2 separate regions of the Homo sapiens genome follow, and region 1 is linked to region 2. The links are contacts of gene promoters, found by promoter capture Hi-C in human tissues and cell types (Jung and others, 2019). All regions are on one chromosome and are shown on one strand. Each heading gives the region's core, a stretch centred on a gene start or on the middle of the fragment in contact. The rest is flanking DNA. Distances are from core to core; before and after follow the strand shown.

Evidence for each region. The method cuts DNA at HindIII sites, captures the fragments that hold promoters and counts their contacts. A contact is called where the count stands out against the background at its distance.
Region 1: a contact is called between a fragment that was not itself captured here and the fragment with the promoter of SIDT1 in region 2, in 1 of the 25 tissues and cell types used here (mesenchymal stem cells).

Annotation. Positions count from the first base shown.
Region 1 is chr3:112,981,240-112,987,386 of GRCh38, forward strand. No RefSeq gene overlaps it. Among named protein-coding and RNA genes, the nearest start is that of GTPBP8, 6.7 kb to the right of the region's middle. The HindIII fragment of the contact is 5,746 bases long and covers 1,063-6,147 here.
Region 2 is chr3:113,530,651-113,537,092 of GRCh38, forward strand. SIDT1 (SID1 transmembrane family member 1) reads left to right here and starts at 1,905. Exons shown (of 25, transcript NM_017699.3): 1 at 1,905-2,593. The coding sequence starts at 2,372. RefSeq lists enhancers at 1,297-1,516, 1,537-1,726, 1,867-2,196, 2,667-2,796 and a silencer at 2,467-2,516. The HindIII fragment of the contact is 8,425 bases long and covers 1-5,840 here.

The DNA of each region.
Region 1 (6,147 bases), core at 2,686-5,185, 550 kb before region 2:
TGATTTTTTCGAATCTGCTAACATTTTTGTAACTTTAGTTTTCCACCAAAACTTTTAGTCCTTTGTCTCCTGAAACATAAAAATAATATTTTAAAGTCTCTGTCTGATCATTCCAATATTTGAAGTAATGGTGGGTAAATCTCTATTGGTTCTTTCTGTGATGTTTGGTCTCCTCATGTGCCAGGTATTGTGTTTTCTTTCTCAAATTGCAGAAAAACTGGAAATTATTTGAGGCCCTGCAAAATTTTGTCTTCCTCTGGAGATTTTCATTTGCTTCTGCCAGGAGTCCATAAACAGTAGCAATCAGGAGTCACCTTAATCCAGTTTTAAGGACTAGAATTTTCTGTGCAATCAGATGACTCAAAGGTAGGTTGCAGTCTATGTGCTATGGCTTGAATGTGTCCTCCATATTTCATGTTGGAAATTAATCCTCAAACTTATATGTTGATTGGAGGTACAGCATTCGAAAGGTAAGCAGGATTAGATAAGGTCATCAGGTTGGGACTCCAACGATGGGACTGGTGGCTTTCTAATAAGAGGAAGAGAGACCTGAGCTGACATGCACACTCTTCCTCTCTAACCATGTGATACCCTTAACCATGTTATGATGAGCAAGAAGGCCCTTACCAGATGCCAGCCCCTCAAACTTGGACTCTCCAGCCTCTAGAACTGTGTAGGAGATAAATTTCTTTTATAAATTACCCATTCTGTGGTATTATGTTATAGTAACACAAAACAGCCTAAGACACTATATAAGGGGTGATTTTATCGTCCACTCCATCCTATCCCAAACCACTCTTTCTCATTTCAAGAGGCTACAAAAGGTACTGCTCACCTTTCAACTAGCTCTTCTATATCAATCAGTAAACATCTCAAGGGTAAATGTAGTTCCAATGCCAGTTTCATCAATCTGTATTTCTTTCTTTTTCTGAATCTTGGTGAGGTAATTCTTCATTACCTTGCTAGGTCACTGATCTGCCATCCAGTAGACTTTTAAAATGATTATGTCTAGATTTTCTAGTTGGCTTGAGAGGGAAGATTGATCTAAATTTCTTAGTCTGTATCACCTGATGTAAAAGTCCAATTCCTTGATTCTTTGCTTTTCCTCATCTATCAGCAAGTCTTTTTGGTCTCTACTTTAAAATGTTTCCTGAATTTGACCATTTCACATCATCTCCACTCTACTGGATTAGAAAAAGAAGGATGCAGTTACAGCTTCAAAAGCATGGTTTTTAAAACTAAAATACTGTATCATTTAACTTGCGGGCAGCAGCAAAAAGGTAAACAGATACCAGAAGCCACAGAACACTTGTGTTTCGTGACTGCTTCCATTTTACCACAACTTTCTGAAATGCATTTTATTAAAGTCGTTTTTATTTTGGTCACTTGTAGCATTGATTATGTTGTTGAAACATAAAAGCTCAGATATTCCATACAGGAAATTTAAGAATTTTAAAAGTCTGAAGGCCTATATTAAGACTTTTTTCTTAAAATCATTTATGCTCCATTGACAACTAAGTTATGCTTTTATGACTATTTTCCTACTAGTGATCTTTCTTTCTTATATGCTTTCTTTTTACTTACTAATATACTACCAATAACTTGGAGTGATTTAATGTGATTTCAAAATGTGTGTAGGGGAATTTTCTAAAGAATACTGTTATGATTATCTCACCTTGGGAAAAGAAGAAGTAGGAAATATGAAACTGCTGAAAACGTTTGAATGTTGAATGTTCTGTATTGAGAAAAGGAAGTAGATAAGATCTTTTTTGATTTAATATTTCTATCTTTTACTTGGCTAAATATGATAAAGCAATGAAACCTGTAAGAAGTAGTGCTCTGCTTCCTAGTCAAAGTATCTTTAATTCTGGAAATTTTCAGCAAATTTCCTCCTTTTACTTCATTTTTTTCAAGTACTCCTATAATATTGTTTGGTTTGCTTTTGTTTTGTGTTGTTTTGTTTTTTGAGACAGAGTTTTGCTCTCTCACCCAGGCTGGAGTGCAGTGGTGTAATCTCAGCTCACTGCAATCTCTGCCACTCAGGCTCAAGAAATTCTCATGCCTCAGCCTCCCAAGTAGTTGGGATTGTGGGCGTGCACCACCATACCTGGCTAATTTTTTGCATTTACAGTAGAGAAAGGGGTTTCATCATGTTAGCCAGGCTGGTCTCCTACTCCTGGCCTCAAATCGATCTGCCCACCTCGGCCTCCCAAAGTGCTGGGATTACAGGACCAAGCCACCATGCCCAACTCTTACAATACTGTTATTTAAATTTCTTCTTTTCACCTTCGCAGCTCTTAACTTTTAAATTCTTTATATTTTTTATCCCTTCCTAATATTTATTGAAATATTCTCCAATCTAATTATCCTGCTATTTTGTTCTTTGAGTTGATAATATTATTCAACTATTAAACACATCCATTGAGAAATTTACTTCACAATAATATAATTCATATCTAATATGTTCAACTGGTACTTCTTAGAAGCTTCCTGTTTCATGTTTGCCATATATTCCCTTATCTCTGAGGATATTTTCTGTTTTTATTTAAATTCTTTGCCCACCAAGTCCATTCATTCTGATTACTTCTAGAATGAATTATCTTTTTCTTACTTTTTCTTCTATTGCTTGTGGGTTCATAATGTGAGTTCGTGAGATTATACTATTATGGTAAAATCAGCTATCTTTTAAAAAAAATCAGCTATCTTGGTAAATAACAGATACCTAGAGAGAGGAGTGAAAGGCTAGGTTCTGACTTGCACTAGTCTAGGCAGAAGAGAGATATATCACAGCATTCTGGGCTCAACCACTCGTGCGCCTGCCACCCATGAGATCCTGCCTATTAGGTAACCACCTAGTACCACTACACCAGGCATTATTCCTTTCTAGAGAGTAATCACAAAACATTGTTTGAATCTGATTGTCCAGCCCCTAGAGGAGGATGGGTAAGGAGGTTGGAGGGAATGTTCAAGGACATTGCTGCACTCAACTCCAGCTAAACCTGATGTTCATACCAGTTGAATCACCAATTCATTGCACTCCTCTCCAGAGGCCCCATACTTTATTACAGGTGGCTGAGACAGCAGCTTTGATTATAACCTCCTTCCACAGGAAGAATTCTAGTTTTGCCATGTCCTATTAAAATGACTAGAGAAAGTCTGTCCCACTTTTCTCAAAAATCTCCAGAGAAATCACTTGTATTTAGAGCAGAACCTGGAATACATCTTTCCTACAAGTATACAATCTCACAATAAGTGCAGGTGAGAAACTTCTCATTTTTAAATGTTTTTATCTTTTAATCTATGTGCAGAAAACAGTTCATATAGCAGGCCTGTGGCTGCTACCCTTAGAAAGATTTGTTTACAAGATTGGCACTGGGCTGACATTTGAGAACTTGACTGGTAAACAGTTTCCTTGCATGGCACAGAGCCAACTTTCCATTCATGAGTGGCTCACTGTATCTAAACTATTTGAACAAACAAGTGGTACATACTGATGCTGCTTTCCTTCTGCAAATCTGAACTTTCAGTGACTATAGTCAGTCACACAGGCACTAGATGCCTATATGAACAGCGCTCGGTAAAAACCCTGGACTCCTAGACTCAGGTGAGCTTTGCTAGTAGACAACATTTCACACATGTTGTTAAAACTCATTGCTGGCAGAATTAATTGCATCCTGTGCAACTTAGGGGACAATTAGAAGCTTGTGCCTGGCTTCCTCCAAACTTCACTTTGAGTGCCTTTTCCCCTTGCCAGGCTTGCTTTGTATTCTTTTGTTGTTGTAAATTATAGGCATAAGTACAACTATATGCTGAGTTCTGTGCATCCTTGCTCGCCTCATTTGGGAGCTAGTCTTGGGAACACCTGACACACTCTACCTATGAATAAGTTAAAAATTTGAATATACATCAATATATCTGCCTGTGAATGTTGCCTCATCTCCTCAGGGTGTTAGAGAACATTCCATTCACTTCCAACAAGGCAACAAGATATAAACTAGATGTGTACTACAAAGTAAACTTGCCCACTAAAATAACCTTGCTTAACACACAACAAGAATTAAAATGTTAACGAATTAATCAGTCAGAACAGCAAAATCCATACTATTTTCCAAAAACAATTTTAAAAAAACCCTCTGAGCTTGTTACTGATATAAAAACACAACCTGAATATGGTAAATAGTGTTCCAAATTATTTTAATAGCACTTGTATGACACAGAGCCAAATGCAAAATTACGAATGAAAAAAATTAAGACCACTTAAAGCAATCATTTCTCCCTCTATTGATAAAAACAACCTTGAAAGAAGTGAACCTTTACTCCTCCTCCAGAATCCAAATCACTCTACAAACTCACCTCCTACCTATGATTACTGTCTGATGGTTAATCTCCAGATCTCTTTAGAGAAATCTGTCAGTGCAGTAGGCACAACCTTAAAAGAAAGCTCAAACAACTTCTCTGAAAAAGAAACAACTTCTCTAAATTTAGATATATTCTCTAAAGACACATTAATCAGATATTTAAAAAGCTCAATGCTTTCATGAGCTCCAAAGACTAAAATCATGGAAAATAGGTCTCTATTGGTTCTTGAATTATAGTAAAATAATAAATCTCAAGAATAATAATTTATGCCCTAATTAAGAAATTAAGCCTGGGCGTGGTGGCTCATGCCTGTAATCCCAACATTTTGGGAGGCTAAGGCAGGATGATTTCTTGAGGCTAGGAGTTCAAAACTGACCTCAGCAACATAGTGAGACTCTGTCTCTCCAAAAAAAAAAAGCACACACACACAAAAAAACTTTGTAAAATTAGCCAAGGGTGGTTGAGTGCCTGTCGTCTCAGCTACTTAGGAGGCTGAGGCAGGAAGATCACTTGAGCCCAGGAGGTTGAGACTACAGTGAGCCATGATTGTGCCCATTCCAGCCTGGGCAACAGAGCGAGACCTTGTCTCTAAAAAAAAAAAGAAAGAAATTAGGTGAACAAATCAAACTTGTTGTGCCACAAATTTGTGTCAATGTGTCAGGTAATATCTAAAGTAAAATTTTAAAATGAATGTTGCACAGAAAACTCAAGAAAAATATAATTAATTGTATTTTAAATTTAAATCATTCATTCAGATAGTAGTCATCACAATTTAAGTAATTTATGTGGAAGTTTCTCCCATATCATGCTCCTTCATATAAAGCCTCTTTCATCTTCCTTTCTCCCAATATTTTCTTCCTAATACAAGAGTTTGATATCCTAATTGGAATGTAACCAGGTCTTTCTCATAGTTTATCAGTACTCAGATAAATTCCTGGCATAGCAGACACCCAATAAATGTTCATTATTGTTGTTAAGACAAGCAGAAAAGTCAGGGTAAGAAAGGTCTAGTGGAAATCAGACACTGAGACCTAATCCATTCCCTCTCTCTATTTCTAGAAGTAAGTTTTGCTAGAGTCCCTGCTCTTGCTTCTGTCAGGACATTCAAACCATGTTTAACTTAGGATGGGAGTTATCTGATGTTCCCAGTGCCCCTACCTATCTAGGCCTACAAAGTTTACCTTCTTCATGTCTTAGATGGATTCCATAAGCTTGAAACCTATAGGACCTGGACATAAATTGGGATCACTCTGGACCTAATGGCCATTCACTATAGAGGCAGACATCGCAGTAAGAACAATTGAGAGGATCCTGTCCTACCTATCTTCCTTCTATTCTTAGCTGAGCATGACAGAGTATAACTATGACATTTAGGGCAGATGAATTTTAGCAATAAAAGCTGATTCTGGGGATGATGTATAAAGTAACGCCTGTCAAAGTCATATTAAATTTTTAAAACCTTGTTAACTTTGTGGTAAACTACCTCCTCGTTATCAAAACAGAAGGCACTTTTTCTCAGAAGGTTGGCCATAAATACATCCTAAGTCAAACTGGGAATAAGCCATGTGATTATCTGGGGTAAGCATTCCAGGGAGAAGTACAAGGACACAGAGGCAGGTGTGTGTATATGGCTTGCTTGAAAAACAGCAAGGAAGCCAGTGTGGCTGGAATGGAGTAGAAAAGGGGAAAAATAACAATAGATGAAGTCAGACAAGAGTGGAAGAAGAAAATGAAAGTTCATGTAGGGCTTTTTAGGTTAGTGCAAGAACTTTTTCTATGAGTGAGACA
Region 2 (6,442 bases), core at 655-3,154:
AAATAAATATTTTGGGTTTCATGCTATGATGAAGGATCTGTTCCATTTGCTTCCAATTTAGTTGCGTAAAGTTGAGATAAAATCTTGAAGGAAGGGTCATAGCACCATTTAAATACCCACAGGTCTGTCATGTGGAAGAAGTATTAGGTTTATTCCTATGACTCCAGAGGGCAGAACTAGTACAAGTGAGTAGAAGACAGGCAGATTTCAACTAAGAATATGAAATGTCTTTCTAATAATGAGACACTTGCCCCCAAAAGAAGGTGTTGACTTGTGAAAGAACCAGTTCCTCATCTCTTATAGTGTTTAAAAAGAACGCCATAATAGAACTCCATAATCCTAGAGACTCCTTTAACTGGTCACACCAGCTAACCTCCAGGACCTTCGTAGATTTCAAGTTTATGAAATGTTGTTGAACTTTGAAAAGAGGCACAGATATTTTGAATACAACAGTTTAAAGTCATTCAAATTCTGGATGAAATTATTTCGTTATGCTCCTCAAAAACAGTGAGTTCTATTTGAAGTTTTACCCCCAGACTCTCCTTTGAATTAGTATTTTTGCCCATATACCCATATATTTTCAAGAAATTTCTTTCTTTCCTTCCTTCCTTCCTTCCTTCCTTTCTTCCTTCCTTCTTCCTTCCTTCCTTTCTTCCTTTTGAGATAGGGTCCTGCTCTGTCATCCAAGCTGGGGTGCAGTGGGGTGTTCACGGCTCATTGCAGCCTCGACCTCCCGGACTCAAGCAGTCCTCCCAACTCAACTCCCAAGTAGCTAGGACGACAGGCATGCACCACCACGCCCAGCTATTTTTGTATTTTTTGTAGAGATGGGGTTTCATCATGTTGCCCAGACTTGTCATGAACACATGGCCTCAAGCTAGCCCACCTCCCACTTCAGCCTCCCAAAGTGCTGGGATTACAGGCATGAGCCACTGCACCTGGCCAAGAACATTCAAAACTTTAAAACTGAAAATTGTCCTAATAAGGAGTCTACTAACTTAATCTTCCATCAGCATTGTTTTCTGATTTCACAGAAAACTTTACAACAAATGTATTGCATTCATTCTTGATGTTTTAAGAAATTAAAGGAATTAGACAAGGTAAAAACAAAAACAAATCTATCTCTTTAAAGATGGCAAGGACTAGGATTTTAATCTGTAATCTTAAATTTTTGAAAAAGATCTTTTCCTTCTTAATGACTTCTTTTTAAATGGTCCTTCAGGTTGAACACAATTACATTCTTTTATAGTATACAGTAATGAAGCTGAAATAAAACAGTGAGTTCTCTTCCACACGTAAATTGTGATTGTTCAATGTTCTGCAAGGTCTTCTGATGGCCCCATTCTCACCCTGCTCCTTACCTGCCTCTTTAACTCTTTAAATCTAATCCCCTAATTTTTATCAGAAAAGTATTTCCTTTTTACGATAGGCTGTGGTTTCTGCCTTTAAAAAAACAATCCTGGGGTTTCTCTCAGAATCTGGAAGAAGTCATTGCAATGGTAAAGTAGGTAAGAGGCTGGGGTGGAAAGAAATGCCTTCTGCATAAATCTAGTTAGTCTGAGTCGTTTTTTGACAACTTCCGGGACCAGACTTCAGGCAGTGCTGGAAATTGTTCTCTTTACCATATCTTTTTTTTTTTAACTGTACATATTTACATACATACACATATGGTGAGGGAGAGAACGTGATGACGTGAGACTCTCCATGGAGAGTAGGAGGTAATAAAGAAATAAAACAGGTGTCTGAGGAGAGGTTCTATTAGAGAGGGGAGAATAGAGAGTAATTATCGTTCAGACAGGCAAGAGTTCTCTGCAGGTAGCAGCCTGGGAAAGCGAACTCGCGCACCCTCTTGGGGGACGGGCTCTTTTGCTTTCTATTTCTTCTCCTGCAGCCAGGGTGCACACGTATTTGAAACAGACCGAATTTCCTCCTCGATGTGGCGTCAGGTTGACTTTTCGAGACTAGCGGGTATTTCTTTTTAATGACTCCAATGCCTTTTTATTATTGCTGTTATTGAGGTTGAGGGAGAAGAGATCGGTCTAAATTCTGGCTGGGTAAGTGGGGGGATTCTCGGCGATGAGAAACGGGGGACTTAGAAGCCGGAGGAAAATCAGCAGCCCCACATCTCCACTTCTCCAGTCCGCCCTACTCTCCACCCGTGACCTCCAGTGGAGACCCCAGGCGGCAGCATCAGTATTTGATCGGCCCTTCGTCAGCACGCTGCCAGCCCTGGCCGGCTGGGTTCGCCAGGCATCACCCGCTCGGCTCTGAAGCGGACGCCTGGCCCTGCACCGGGCTTTGGAAGGACCCTCTCTGCGCTCGCCCCCTCCCCAGGGTGGCTCCGCTTTCGAGCCCGGGCGCGGTGCCCACCATGCGCGGCTGCCTGCGGCTCGCGCTGCTCTGCGCGCTGCCCTGGCTCCTGCTGGCGGCGTCGCCCGGGCACCCGGCGAAATCCCCCAGGCAGCCCCCGGCACCGCGCCGCGACCCCTTCGACGCTGCCAGGGGCGCCGATTTCGATCATGTCTACAGCGGGGTGGTGAACCTCAGCACCGAGAACATCTACTCTTTCAACTACACCAGCCAGCCCGACCAGGTAAGACACTCGCTCCCCTCGCTCGACTCCTAGAACTTGCCAGATCTCAGAGCCCCGTCGCTGCTTTGGAGTCCCCTGGGAATTGACCTTGGGAGACTTCGGGGACCAGGGGACTTTCTTTCCCTTTCTCCTCCGAAGCAATCGCTGCCCTGCCCTAGCTGCCTCAACACGCCTCGGGGACAACTCTGCTTCGCCTCGCGCCTCTCCTGGCCTGGTCAAGGGCATTGCTGGGCTTTGCAGAGGCACCAGTTCCCCGCACCGTCTGCGGGTCCTGGGTCCCTGCTGGGTCTTTCTCCAGGAAAGTCCTGATTTCTAGGGTTGCGGGGTGTGGTGTGGAGTGCGAAGAAGAACCGCACCTCGGTTCCTAATCCCCTGCAGGGAAGAAACCTAATTTCAAGTGGCTGATTCAGCCAGACCCTTCTATTTCATAGCGCATGGGGAGGGAGAACTGCTCAGAATCTAAAATGGAAATTGTGTGAAAATGGACGGAAGCTGCAGAACCTCTGTGCATTCAACAGTCACTTCCTGCGTTTTTGTGCCATTGTCACACGTTGTGCTTCAGAGACGCCAGAAGACCTGGGCAAAGACGTGAGAACTGCAGCCATCAGCTGATCAATCCAGGTTTTGATTTTAAATAAGGATGGATAATTGTGTGAAAGTTCTAGACCTATTTTTGACAAAAGTTGAGGGAAGATAAGGAGGGAAAAATGTTCCAGTGACTATCCCTTTGACATATATACTCCGATTATATAACGTAAGAAGATGCATATAGTTCATTTCTTTCCTCTAGTGTGGTACCTCTGGAGCACTGGGCGGGGAGAGAGAGGGAGACAGAGAGAGAAAGAGAGAAAGAGAGACAGAGACAGAGACAGAGACTCCCCAGTGTACCAACCTCTGGATCTTCTTCCCATATAAATGTGTTTATGTATCCCTTACTATACCAGCATCCCCTACCCTCTAGGGAAATTCCAGAACTAGATGATTGGGATACCATGATATGCCTCCGTCTGATTCTCACTCCAGATCGGAACTAGAAAACCTCATCACTTCCCAAAGTGAGGGTGGTTTGTATTGAGCAGGGGGGACCAATGTGCCTAACACTGCTCCTAGACATCTTCCAGCTGTGTGTAGCCAGAAAGTGCCCTGAGTGCCCCATCTCCAGTGTGGCACCAAATCCTATGGCACTGTTACCATGGCAGCACAGCCCTCACCCTGCTCTGTCCTCCAGTAACCTTCAGGTTATATGTTCTGTAGTGAGCAGAGTGGCTGTATGCAGAGCCATTTCATGGTAGACAAGGGAGAGGCTGCAGTTTTTGTTTCCCAAACGCCATATACCCAGCCTCTTTCTATCTAGCGTGGGAGAACTCATCGACTGGTTGACATGTTGCACGTGAGGTGTGTTCCTAGTCCTGTGATTGGCTGGGAGCAGAAAAAAGTCTGAAAACTCCATGATCTCTGGAGTAAGTCTCAGCTTCCCCCTAAATCATTGGTAAGAAAACTCAAATTACATGTGCTAAGTAAATCCTGACATCAGGCTTTGGTATTTCTTGCAGTTCTGCATAGAGATAGAGCATCTACTTATGAATTGTTGCCTTTACATTTTCCCCTTGTACTGTGTGAGTTTTGCACTTGAGATCACCTGGTTGACTTCCCTAGTAAACCTTGAGATATTGAGGGCAGGGGCAAAGTCATGTTCATCTCTGCCCTCCAGTACCTAGCACAGTGAATGGCACATAAGAGGTTTATAAGCCAGGCATGATGGCTCACACCTGTAATCCCAGCACTCTGGAGGACAAAGTGGGAGGATTGCTTGAGACCAGGAGTTCAAGACCAGCCTGGAAAACATAATGAGACCCTCTCTCTACAAAAAATTAAAAAATTAGCTGGGTGTGATGGCACATGCGCCTGTAGTCCCAGCTACTTAGGAGGCGGAGGCAGGAGGATCACTTGAGCCCAGGAATTTGAGGCTGCAGTGAGCTGAGCTCTTGCCACTGTACTCCCACTGGGGACAGAGTGATACCCTGTTTTTTCAAAATGTTTTTTTTTTTAAAGAAAAGAGAGGCTTATAAAAAACATTTAGTGTTTTCCAAAAATGAACAAATAAGTGAATAAAGGGTTATTAGCTAAGGCTAAATAAAATGAAATGTATACTGTTTTCAATTCAATAGTTTGGAAAATGTGAGATCATTTCAGATAAAAACATAAAAACAAATTTCTTTCATAAAACAAATTTGGTTTTTATAAAAACACATTTTAAAAATTGTTCTATTATGCCCTATTTTGTCTGTGTGTGTTAACATGTCCTTTATTTTATGAAACAGTTTTGAAAATATTTTTGAATGACACAGTAAAAGGTTGATGACCCAAGCAGTCCCTAGAATTTTTGTTAAAATATTACTAGTCTGAGAAATACAAAGTTGGGAACCATGGGAACAGGAGATAACAAGAATTTCAATTATTTTAGTGCCAGTATTCTCAATATAAGCCAAATGTCCTCAAATCTTACAGCCTTCTGGGACCAATCTTTAATATGCAAATGCTGTAGTGGAGCCCTCAAAAGCCACTTATTGTGGGAAATTAACCTCCTGTCCTACCAGCCAGTATTCCTGTTGCTTTCTCCAGAGAAGACATTTTCTTGATCTGTCTGTCCAAACCATTACCTTCGGTTCCTACTCTCTTCTTAGTTCTTCTTATCCTGCATAAGATATCAGCAGCCCCTTCTTGCAGGTACACAAGGCTGTTGGATGTAGCAGAATTTTACTGAAGGTTTGGAATAACATAGAGGAATGACATCACAGCACAAGATAGGTGATAGATTAAATCAGAAACCTAGGCCATACTGTTCCGACAATTTACCACCAGGGGGATTTCAAGATAGCGACGCTCTCTTTCAGGCGCTGGTTTGTCACTATCTTCTTGGCCATCCCCTCATACCTCCTCAAATGCTGACCCCCACCCACTAAATTTTTGTTACTCTCCCATGTTGTGCAATTTTTGCCATCATTGCTTATCCTACACTCACTAAGAGGCTCTGTTAAATAGAGATGTATGACCCCAGACCTACGATCTTTAGAGCAGAAGCTTGGACATGACTGGTTTCCCTTTAACCTGAACAAAGTCTTGATAAGGTAAGTCTTTCTAGCCTGCAGGGTCATTGCCCACCTCCCCTCTTCAGTGCAACAAAGAATTTGGTTTAGGGAAAAAAATGGCTAGTTTTTGAGCTTTAATCTTTGTTTTCCTCTTTCTTCAAGCCATTGTTGCTTGACATTATTTTTCCTGTGCCTTGGAGGAGAAAGTCTATTCTAAGTTTAGGCTTAAAGACAGGAAGCTGTTGTGGGAGCCATTGCTCCTAATCTTTCCTGTCAGCCACTGCATCTCCCATACCAAACTGTCCCAGAGAACTATTTTGCCAAGCTTGTGTCATACTAGTTAGCTGCACTCAGCACCAGGAAAAGTCTCATATGCCTTCCAGGCATAGGGTAATGTAAATATGAAGTTGCCTTCAAAAAAATCACTGAGAGAATGGAATGACTGCTTCAAATAAGAATGATGAAAATAATAATTGGAGGTGCAAGTTAGGCAAGATCATGATTCATTTCATTTCTCTGGAAGGAAGTGTCTGGAGACTCTCTTTAAGAGGAGGAGGGCTATACTGTGCAAACAGGGTGTTCTATAACCACAGGGCTCAGCCAGGCTAGAAGGAAACTAACTTGTTGGGAAAGTTGCCAGGGATATGTTTGACTGGGACAGAAGGCACAAATGCAGGTTTACTGGGAAATGAGAATACTCTTGTAGAGACAGTTGGCAGCAACAATCAGATGTTTCTATTTGAGCTAGATGGTGATAAGA